3 separate regions of the Homo sapiens genome follow, and regions 1 and 2 are each linked to region 3. The links are contacts of gene promoters, found by promoter capture Hi-C in human tissues and cell types (Jung and others, 2019). All regions are on one chromosome and are shown on one strand. Each heading gives the region's core, a stretch centred on a gene start or on the middle of the fragment in contact. The rest is flanking DNA. Distances are from core to core; before and after follow the strand shown.

Region 1 (3,793 bases), core at 1,138-3,637, 56 kb after region 3:
AGTTCTCAGAGCCCTTGGACAGTAATTGCTTCTCAGTGTGCTGGGTGAGCACTGAGAACCCAGTTCAGAGTAATTGTTAAACTTTGCAATTTGTCCAAGTCTAGCAACACTTTTGAAATGTTCTACCTCTTGGCTTATTGTTTCTATCCTTGTAGCTAACATCTTTTACTTCCTTTTCTATATAAAGGAGTAGAGGAAAGGCATCAACAAATTCTTGGGTGTGCTGTAAGCTATACCTGTCCAGAGATTTATTGCAGCATTTACTGGAATGATGACGTACTCAGAAGCACTACTGATATAGTATGCCAAAAAAAAAAAAAAAAAAAAAAGTCTGGTAAACTGTGAAGTATAGTACTTTAGAGTTGCCCTTTACAACCATCTAAGTGTTGGTTTGTTCTTTTATTTAACATACGTTCAGCAAAAATTTCTGAGTACCTGTGATGTACCCAAGAGTGTGTTAGACATTGTGGAACATGAAATTTGACAGGACCCCTGCACTTAAAAAGCCTGTGTTTAGGATGTATTCAGATAACTGCAACATGATTGGCTGGTAAAGGCAGCTTCCTAACCTGCTTGTTTCTTAGAAGTAGTCTTGAAAGTCAATCTGAGTAGGCTACATTGCCTAGTGGCCGGTCTTGGAACTGCTTGGTTTTGCATTTCTTCAGCATGCTTCTGGCTAGATCAATACTTCTGGCTTGATCTAAGGCTCTTGTCTAGATCAAGAGTCTACCCGCTTATGCTTCCATTTTCTGGTAACTTTCATTGCTGCAATCCAGTTTATTTCATTTAAGGCAACTTTGCCATCACAATACACACATGTCCTTTTAGTGTTCTTTTCTCTCTCTGCTATTCAGATTACAAAATTCTTCTACCCTCTTCTCCCCTTTTCAGTCTAGTTGTGAGCCAATATAAAAACTGATATAGGGTGTAGTAGGGAAGGGAGAGTCAGATATTTTGAAGCAAAAATAAGTAGAAACAATCATTGCTTTTCACCACTAGAATCCTTGTAATCACCCTTAGACTTTGGGCACATTTATTTTCTGCTTCTGACTTTTGTAAGAATAAACTTTCAAGATTTAAAAATAAAAAATAAAACTCATTTAATGGGAACTTTCACTGTATTTTTTAGGAAGAAACATATGCATGATTATGAGGCAAAACCTTGTGAAGGAAGTTGCATTTGTACCCGATTCTGTGGGATCTAGTTAGATGAAGATGGAGGTGTGGGTTGCGAAAGGCATACCAGACAAAACAAAACAAAAAAACACTTAAAGGTGAAAGCTCAGAGCTCACCTTGGTTTCCATCAAATTTTGAGCAGCTTAAGGTATGATAATCTCTTTGCTTGACTGAAATCACTTGTTTGAATGACTGTCTGTAACACTCTAAACTTCTTTAAGGAGAGTCTCTTTTATGTTTTTATTTTCAATGTTTAACACAAGACCTGGCACATAGTTGGTACTCAGTAAATGTGGAAGGGTGAAGGATAAATTGCAAGATACATATTAAGGATAGGAAGTGACTTTGATTGACAAGAGAAAGGATTTGATAGAAAAGGGGTCTAATGTTAGAAAAGTAGATTGGGACAGATTAGGGAGGCTTTATATATCAAGTCATTAAATAGACTGTGAAGAGCTGCTTAATGGCTTTGGAGTGAGAGTGTGACACACATATTAGTCTTCAGAAAGGTGAATGTGGAAACAGTGTGCAGTACAGATTGGTGGAAGGAGGGATTGAACAGGAGATATGGAAATCAATAATGGGGGTAATAAAGTAGAACAGGTGTCAGAGTGGTATAAAGGTTATGAAAAAGTGTTATTTCATGGTTAAGTATGCTAAACAACTGGTTTTAATCTGCTTCTGCCTCCAGAGTACTGTCAGTTGGCCTGGACTTGAATCCTAGTCTGTCACTTAGTAACCAGATACCTTGGACAAGTTACCTAAGCTCTCTAAATTCATTTCTATGTGTTTACTGAGGACTGATATCCCCCAAAACCAAAAACAAAACATGAAGAATTTGTCATGGTGCCCAAAGAATGAGGAACATTCAACACATGATAATAATTATTAGTATTACTATGATTACTTGTGAAGGCTACAAGTAAGGGTTTCCTGCTGTAGGATGGAATGAGGCTTCTGTACATCTTTTTTGCCTTGTGTGTTCTAACTCAAAGAACTGTGCCCTGATCTCTTAAACAGATTTGATGAAAATCTTTCATCTAAGTAGCAAAAGGACAAGCTTTCAAGCAAATATTACAGAAGAAGGGATCATAAGTGGTAGAGTGTCATGGAAAAATTCTAGTCCTAAATTTGTTTCAGAAGAGCAGGGTGACCTTGGGGAAGTCACTTCATCAATCTAGATCTTCATTTTTTCAGCTATAAAGTAAAGGGGTTGGATTAAATGATCTTTTAGTTCTTTCTCAACCAGATATTAAATGATTTTTCAAGTTGCTCATTAAATTTCTAGGCTCCATCAAGCAGTTCATTATGTACCCTACTTGCTCACTTGATCTGTATATTTTTCATCCAATTTTTCAGTCTAGATTTCCATTTGGTACATTTTCATTAGCACTGAAGTTTTTTGAGCATCTCTTTAGGTGATCTGTCCCTCTCTATCTGTGTGTATGTGTGTGTGTGTTTACATGCATGCATGTGCATACAATAGGACATTTTAGATAGGTCTAGGGTTCAAACTTTGTTGATGAAGACAATTGCTTTAACAGTTTTCTGAAACATCTCTAAACTCCTGTAGCTTGGATGCCTCAGGGTAAAGTTGTGTGACATCACTCTTGCTAGAATTTATTTGTGCCGCTAATTTACATGAGAAATAAGAGTTTCCAGGGAGAAAAGAAATAGGGCTTGACTCTTTTTTTAAGTTTCAAAGATACTGAAATATGTCTGATGGATTAGGGTGGCTTGATGAATGCCAAGTTATGGGAAATAGCAAGGAGGTGCTGAAACAACTCATCTTTCTTGGAGGCATAAGGAATTCTGATGAGGGAGGCTGTGTCTCTCTTTAGGGGCTAAACTTTGAAGGAGGGGTAGTCCTGATCCCATGCCCAGGATGACTGACACACTGGAACCATCTTGATGCAACCACCCTGACACCTTGGATATGCCTTGGAATAAACATTTACATATGGTCGAATCGAAAGAACTTCTCTAAAACATGGAAATTCTTAGGCATTTAACAGTTTTGCTATGGGACTATTAAGTGAGTGTAGCTCAAAGGTAACAGCATTATTTCTTTACCATTCAGCACAGAATCGTGTTTGTCTGGGGAATTCATGGAACTCTACCAAAAGCAATGCAAAAATACCTACAGCAACTCAGTGACAATGTTAACCAAAACTAGCAAGCAGGACTGTTGGGGGCCAGCAAATGTAAATGCTAATTTCAGTAAGTGTCAAATTCAGTCTTAAGGGCTATGCCCTTTTCAGGTGCAAAACAGTGACAAACAATGGCTCTTGGACACATGAATACTCTTGGGAGATCCTTAGATATATTTGAGGGAAAAAATTTGTAGAGCAAGTTGGAATTAGTGTTCAAAGGGTAGGTGAGAATGCAGAGACCTTGCAAATTTATGTATTAATGTATGTGGGACTTCATTTGAATGCAGGCCCATATTAATATTAATGCATCCACCAAGCATAAAGAAAGGTTAATCTATTTTGAGGGTCAGTTATATTTATTATAGTAAAATAGTAGCAGGATATTCTGGTTAACATAGTCTCATGAACTTAGTTAACGTGAGGCTACCCCTGAGAGAGAAAGAGATCCTCTCTGTGTACACTG
Region 2 (3,397 bases), core at 536-3,035, 51 kb before region 3:
TTCTAGACACTGGGAGATAAAATGTCACTACCCTGATGGCAAGAGAAACAGACACATAAACAAAGAAGATAATACACATAAACAATGAGGATAATATGATCACAACTGGTGGTGTTTTGGTGAGATGTCTCTTTAATAGAGAGAAAAGGGAGGGTGGGATGCACTTTGCAGGCAGAGAGGATAGCTCATTTGTAAGATCTGAGGGAAAAAATATACCTGTAGTTAACAATATGGTATTGTATCCTTTAAAATGTAAGAGCATAGGTCTCATGCTAAGTGTTCTTGCCAAAAAGAAAAAAACTCCAAATGACAGAAAAAAAAAAAACAAAAAACCTCACACACAAAAGAACACAAGGAAAATTTGGAGGTAATGGATATGTTTAGTACCTGGGTTACAGTGATGGTATCGTTGGTGTGTGCATATGTCCCGTATGTCCAAACTCATCAAGATGTGGACATTAAATATGTGCAGTTTTGGGGGTATGAATTATACCTCTAAAAATGTTTAAGAAGGAAGGAAGAACAAAGATCTGAGTAAGAAAGGAACCAAGTAGAGCATTTTTGTTGTTGTTGTTGTTATTGTTGTTGTTTGACACAGTGTCTCACTCTGTCGCCAGGCTGGAGTGCAGTGGCAAAATCTTGGCTCACTGCAATCTCCGCCTCCCAGATTCAAGCAATTCCCCTGCCTCAGCCTCCCAAGTAGCTGGGACTACAGGTGCGCACCACCATGCCTGGCTGATTTTTTGTATTTTGGTAGAGACGAGGTTTCAGCATGTTGGCCAGGATGGTCTTGATCTCCTGATCTCGTGGTCTGCCCGTCTTGGCCTCCCTAAGTGCTGGGATTACAGGCATGAGCCACCATGCCTGGCCCCAAGTAGAGCTTTTGAAAGAACAAGAGAAAGTCAATAAAGCCAGGGGGCCTGGTGTACAATGAGAAGGGAAAGATGGGTCAGATAAATCTGGAAGCACAAGCAGGGACTTGAGTATGCAGGATTTTGAAATTTGCTTAAGAACATTAGGAATCTGTTGAATAATTTTAAAGCAAGTAAATGATAGATGGGATGATGCTTATAACTTTTATGAATTTTACATATTAAGGTATACTTACATGTATTGAGGTATAATTTATATACCAAAAAAATCACAAATTTTAAACATCTTATTCAATAATTTTTAGTAAATTTACAGTGTTGTGCAACAGTTCTCTCAATCCAATTGAGAAGATTTAATCATGAAAATTTCCCTTTAGCATATTTACAATTAATCTCTGTTCCCTTCTCCAGCCCCAGTCAACCACTAATTTGATTTCTTATAGATTTGACATTTCTTCAGATTTCATATAAATGGAATTGTATAATATGTAGTCCTTTACTTCTGGCTGGTTTCACTTCACATAATGTTTTTGCAGTTCAGCCATGTTATAAAATGTGTTGATATTTCATTCTCTTTTATAACTGAACAGTACAGTGTATGGATATGTCATATTTTGTTTATCCATTCACCAAGTAATTGGTGTCAAAAGACAAAATTACAACAAACTTAATTAAGATCTTAATTGGCTTTATTGTGATTTCAGAACTGGGCAACACTTCATTCCATAAAATAGAATAAGTGTTCTGATGACCTGAGCAAAAGGGGTTGTGTTAGGGCTTCATGCAGAAGCTTTGTGCAAAACAATTAACATCTTAACTTAAAACAATCTATTACAGATTCAAACTTACAACTTAATTTTGATAGTATACATCGGCTTTGCTCTCCTATAGCTCCATTGCCTCCCTACTTGTGTGCTATTATTATACATATTACTTATTAGTACATTTCAAGCACATTGACACAGTTTTATGTCTTTTAACCATATGCAAGAAGAAAAGTGTTACAAACTAAAATATATTTATACTATCTCTCATATTTGCCTATGTAATTACCCTTATTAATCTTTCTATTTCTTCGTATTAGAGTTACTCTCTAGTTTGTTTTCATTTCTCCTAAAGGACTCCCTTTAGTTTTTCTTGTAGGGTAGGTTTGGTAGGGATGAATTCTCTCAGTTTTTGTTTACCTAGCACTGTCTTAATTTCTCTTTAATTTTTGTCAGATAGGTTTGCCAGATATAAAATTATTCATAAGGAGGGTGTTCCAAGATGGTTCAAAAAGGAACAGCTTCGGTCTGCAGCTCCCAGCAGGATTGATGCAGAAGACAAGTGATTTCTGCATTTCCAACTGAGGTACCTGGTTCATCTCATTGGGACTGGTTGAACAGTAGGTGCAGCCCACAGAGGGCAAGCTGAAGCAGGGTGGGGCATCGCCTCACCCGGGAAGCACAAGGGGTTGGGGGATTTCCCTTTCCTAGCCAAGGGAAGCTGTGACAGACTACATGGAAAAATGGGACACTCTTGCTCAAATACTGTGCTGTTCCCAAAGTCTTAGCAACTGGCAGACAAGGTGATTCTCTCCCGTGCCTGGCTTGGTGGCTCCCACTCCCACAGAGTCTTACTCACTGCTGGCGCTGCAGTGTGAGATCAATCTGCAGGATGGCAGCCTGGCTGGCAGAGGGGCATCCGCCATTGCTGAGGCTTGAGTAAGTAAACAAAGTGGCTGGGAAGCTCTAACTGGGCAGAGCCCATCACAGCTCAACAAGGCCTACTTCCTCTAGACTCCACCTCTGGGGGCAGGGCATAGCTGAACAAAAGGCAGCAGACAACTTCTGCAGACTTAAACCTCACTGTCTGACAGCTCTGAAGACAGCAGTGGTTCTCCCAGCATGGCACTGAGCTCTGAGAACGGACGGACTGCCTCCTCAAGTGGGTCCCTGACCCCCGTGTAGCCTAACTGGGAGACACCTCCCAGTAGGGGCCGACAGACACCTCATATAGGCGGCTGCCTCTCTGGGACAAAGCTTCCAGAGGGAGGATTAGGCAATAATATTTGCTGTTCTGCAGCCTCTGCTGGTGATACCCAGGCAAACAGGGTTGGGAGTGGAACTCCAGCAAACTCTAATAGACCTGCAGCTGAAGGACCTGACTGTTAGAAGGAAAACTAACAAACAGAAAGGAATAACATCAACATCAACAAAACGGTCATCTACACCAAAACCCCATTTGTAGGTCACCAACATCAAAGACCAGAGGTAGATAAAACCACAAAGATGGGGAGAAACCAAAGCAGAAAAGCTGAAAATTCTAAAAATTAGAGTGCCTCTTCTCCTCCAAAGGATCACAGCTCCTTGCCAGCAATGGAGCATGACTGATGAGTTGACAGAAGTAGGCTTCAGAAGGTCAGTAATAACAAACTTCTCTGAGCTAAAGGAGAATGTTCAAACCCATTGCAAGGAAGCTAAAAACCTTGAAAAAAGATTAGACGAATGGCTAACTAGAATAAACACTGTAGAGAAGACCTTAAA
Region 3 (3,710 bases), core at 111-2,610:
CAAGCCTGAGACAGGCAAACTGTCTACTTTCCTGTTTTGATGTGGTCCGAAGAAATAAACAAGAAACAAGGAGAGACCCTTCCTCAAACTGTAACTCCAGCCAATTAGCATGAAAAGCTCAAGAAGCTATTAACCAGAAGTTTCGGCTTTAGGGGACCAGGGACTTGCCCGAGGCCCTGGCATGCGCGGCGGCTAGGTTTAACTTTCAACTCATAGTGACCTTTTCCTTAATTTAATGCAAAAAATCTTTCCCAGAGGTGGAGATTTAAGATGCTAATGATACATACGTCCTATGAAGAAGCATGTTAAACCACCATGCATGCACCAGAAAAACTCCACCTCTACATGCCCTGTCTATAGTTCTCCTTATTTCCCCTTACGGGAGAGGCCCGTAAAAGAAACCCACACCCTGACTTCGAGGAACAGCCCACTTTTTTTTTTCTTGGTGTTAGCTCCCTTGTGCGCACAAGCTTTAATTAAAAGAAAGAAAGAAAGAAAACCAAAAAAACTTGCTTTTTGCTGCGATATCCCTTGATTTCTGTCCTGAAGGATCCAAAGAGCCCTCAGGGAGTCGATACCAGAGCCGTATTTGTTTTTGCAGCAACAGGTTGGCTGCGGGCTCTTCCCCCGCCTTCCAAAGCCCTCAGCCCCTGGCCCACCCTGCAACTTACTCATCTCTCCAACCCTCCTCCCCTAGAACTGCTGCCTCCTGTGCGCAGCCCCTAGCCTGGGCCTGATTCCAATTTCTGTAACATTCCCCTGCCCGGGATTGAATACAGGTTGAAAGTCGGTCTCCTCCGCGCCCCTGAGGCCCAACCCCGGCGCTGAAGCCTCCCAACTCCTGTGTGCAAAGGAGACGGAGACTGAGGGATCTGGGCGCTCTGGCAGGCACAGGAGGGCTCCCCGCCCGTGGCCTCGCCGGAGATGCACCCGGCTCCCAACCCAACAAACCCGCTTTGGGAGGGGATGGGGTGGGGAAAAGAAGACGGGGCTCGGGGCTCGAGGGGAGATATAGAGAAAGCAAGTTAGGTAGAGGAGATGTCCCAGAGGACCCCATTTTCGGGACTGCACCTCCCATTGGAGCTCCCCGCTCCCAAGCCCTCTGGGGACTCCCGCGCTGCCGTCGAAACCCCTATTCCGGCCCCAACGGGGACACTTCTCCAGGATTTGCTCCTCGCCTGTGGGGACCACAGCCAAAGACTCCTGGAATCGATCCCAGATCCTGGGAGTCGGGGGGCCCAGCCGGGGTGCGGGGAGTCGCGGCGTCGTGACTGCACCCGCCCCGCCGCGCCGGGAGGCGCCCCTGGCGACCGTCGCGAACGCCACACCCTCGGTTCGGCCCTGGCCCCGCCCCCGCCCAGAGCGCGTTCGCGGCCAGGGGAGGCGTGTGCTGCTCCCGCAGCCAGCGAGAGCGAGAGAGGGATGGATGTTGGAGGAGGAATTCGGGCTTAACAAGTGATCGCTGCTGTCTAGGATTTTGTTTCTTTTCGGGGGAACCTTGACTTCCTTTCCCAGGCAATCCCTCCTGTGCTGAACTCCAGAGGAACCAGGAGTCTTGGGGTCTTCTCTGGGGCAGCCCCAACCCCCACCCCCAGGCTCCAGCCGCGAGGACTCTGTGCACCCCTCGGGCCAGGCAACAGAACTTGTTCCGTGGATATTTGGAGCCTCCACCTGCCAAACCCGAGTGATTCCTTTTACCACCCCCCGCCCCCCACCCAGGATCATTCTTCCCCTCCTCCAGCTGTTGCAGCTTGAGGGGGAAAAACAAGCCAGCCGGTGGATTTTCTTTATTTTTATTTTTCGCCCCGCCGGGGAACGGTAAGTATGATACCTTTTTTTTTTTTTTTTTTTTTTTGTATCTTTCCTCTACCTTCTTATTTTGGCTGTTAAGAAACAGTGGACATTTGAGGGATAAATAATATCGGGAATGTGACAGAAGGGCATGAATGGAAGGCGGTTAAAAATAAACCAGGAGGTGGGAGAAGGGAGGTGCGGATGCTGCGCGGCGCTCCGGGGGGCCAACAGTTGTTATTTTCCCAAACCCGGGGATGCGGTGAGTGCGCCCTGCTTAACGTGCTGGAGCGGGAACCGAGGTCTGGAGGCGAGGGCGCGATTAAAGATGTCGTTTCCCAACGAGAGGGGGGTTAAGATTTAGCATCGTTTCGCCTCCTCCCAGCCGCACCGGTTCCCTTCTTTTGGGAACAGCCGGTGAACGGGTCTGAATTGCTGCCTCTTCCAACGTTTGGATTTGCGTGCATTTTCCGAGCATTTGAGCAACATACATAGGGGCTGCATAAATGGCGTGCGTTGAAGTGTATATTTCTCACGGTGGTGGCTTTTCTGATTCCCTCTCTCAGTTTCTCTCTCTTTCTCTCTCTCTCTCTCTCTAAGGTTCAGGTACCACCCTGACAGTGACACAGTTGCAGGAATTAGCACTGAGAGACGAACAGCCTTGTTGTTGGAGGGGTGAGAGGAGGAGGGGCGGGATGCTTGGCTGTTGTTTGGGGGCGCCGGGATTGGGGAATAGGTAGTCTGCAAAATCCTATTAGTTTAATGGTGTTAAAGAAGAAGACAAATTCCTCTGCAAAGATCTCTCTCATAAAGGCTCCTGGGAATTGGCTTGAATAGATTCTCCTAACAAGAGTACCTTGAGAAAGAAGAGAGATTTTAAACCAGTCTGATTTGCTGGGAGGAATGATTTTTCTTTTCTCTTCTTTTCTTTCTCTCTCCCTTTCTTTCTAGATCAGGGATAGTGAAGTAACTAGTAGATGATTAAAAGGAAGGCAATTTGCTACTTGTAGGGTGGAGGAGGGAGTTAGATAAACAAAAACTAACAATCCCAAATAAATAAATAAATGTGAAATTATTTGGTGTAGAGCAGAAAGAGGGCAGTTCTAGAACTCCCGAAGAGCTGATGGTGAATTAGAAGACTCGCTAATTCATGACCTTCTGGGAGTCAGTTGGGTGGGAAGGCAGTGTGTGTAGTATTCAACTATACAGGAACTTGGGTTACATTGGGGCTTCATTGAAATTATAATTGTTTTAGGGGAGTTGGGGAAGAAACTGAGCAAACTCTCAGGCTATTTGGTCTGTACCGGTCTTGAAAGGATGTTGGCCTGACACTCCACTGCGAATGTCACCCCAGGATGGTTTTGTAAGTAGGGATTTGGAAACTCCTTGAGGGTAAACATTTCAGAGTATGAGATGATGTTAGGAGTCAGGCAAAGGAAGGGAGATGGCATGTGAGATGCCCTCTGTGGTGTATTTTCTGGAGTTTGTGTTGCAATCAAATGCCCTTCTTGCCCTAGGAAAATATATATGATTGGGAAGGGGTGTATGATTGGGAAGACCTCTGTTTGCCACTTCCATGCTTGTCACTTCATAAAATTCAGTGTGTTTAGGCTTTTAGGCTGACAGGATCAGCAAGGAGCAGCAGGTGGTCAAGAGCTGAATCCTGTTAATGGCTTCAGAAAGCCATTTCTCTTATGCTTTCCAAGTGCTTCCAGTAATAGAAGCTGGTAGATGCCCTGAATTCTGACTATCATCATTCTCTCCAGTTCTCTGGGTTACTCCCTGCATTCTTGGAAGTCCTGTTGAACAGAGTACATGGAAAAATCAAGAGGAGACAGGAGATTTGGATGGGGGCTTTTACAGGGCCTGGCTGAGGAGATGAATTACCTGGATCTTGGGAGAGCAAACTAAGGAAGAAG

The links. The method cuts DNA at HindIII sites, captures the fragments that hold promoters and counts their contacts. A contact is called where the count stands out against the background at its distance.
Region 1: a contact is called between a fragment that was not itself captured here and the fragment with the promoter of KCNA4 in region 3, in 2 of the 25 tissues and cell types used here (dorsolateral prefrontal cortex and hippocampus).
Region 2: a contact is called between a fragment that was not itself captured here and the fragment with the promoter of KCNA4 in region 3, in 4 of the 25 tissues and cell types used here (hippocampus, mesenchymal stem cells, pancreas and 1 more).

What each region holds. Positions count from the first base shown.
Region 1 is chr11:29,959,290-29,963,082 of GRCh38, reverse strand. No RefSeq gene overlaps it. Among named protein-coding and RNA genes, the nearest start is that of LINC01616, 21 kb to the left of the region's middle. The HindIII fragment of the contact is 4,926 bases long and covers 1-3,793 here.
Region 2 is chr11:30,066,493-30,069,889 of GRCh38, reverse strand. The region is part of intron 1 of ARL14EP-DT (ARL14EP divergent transcript); the gene reads left to right. Among named protein-coding and RNA genes, the nearest start is that of KCNA4, 51 kb to the right of the region's middle. The HindIII fragment of the contact is 3,874 bases long and covers 1-3,397 here.
Region 3 is chr11:30,014,680-30,018,389 of GRCh38, reverse strand. It overlaps KCNA4 (potassium voltage-gated channel subfamily A member 4), which reads left to right and starts at 1,360. Exons shown (of 2, transcript NM_002233.4): 1 at 1,360-1,818. The HindIII fragment of the contact is 10,149 bases long and covers 1-3,710 here.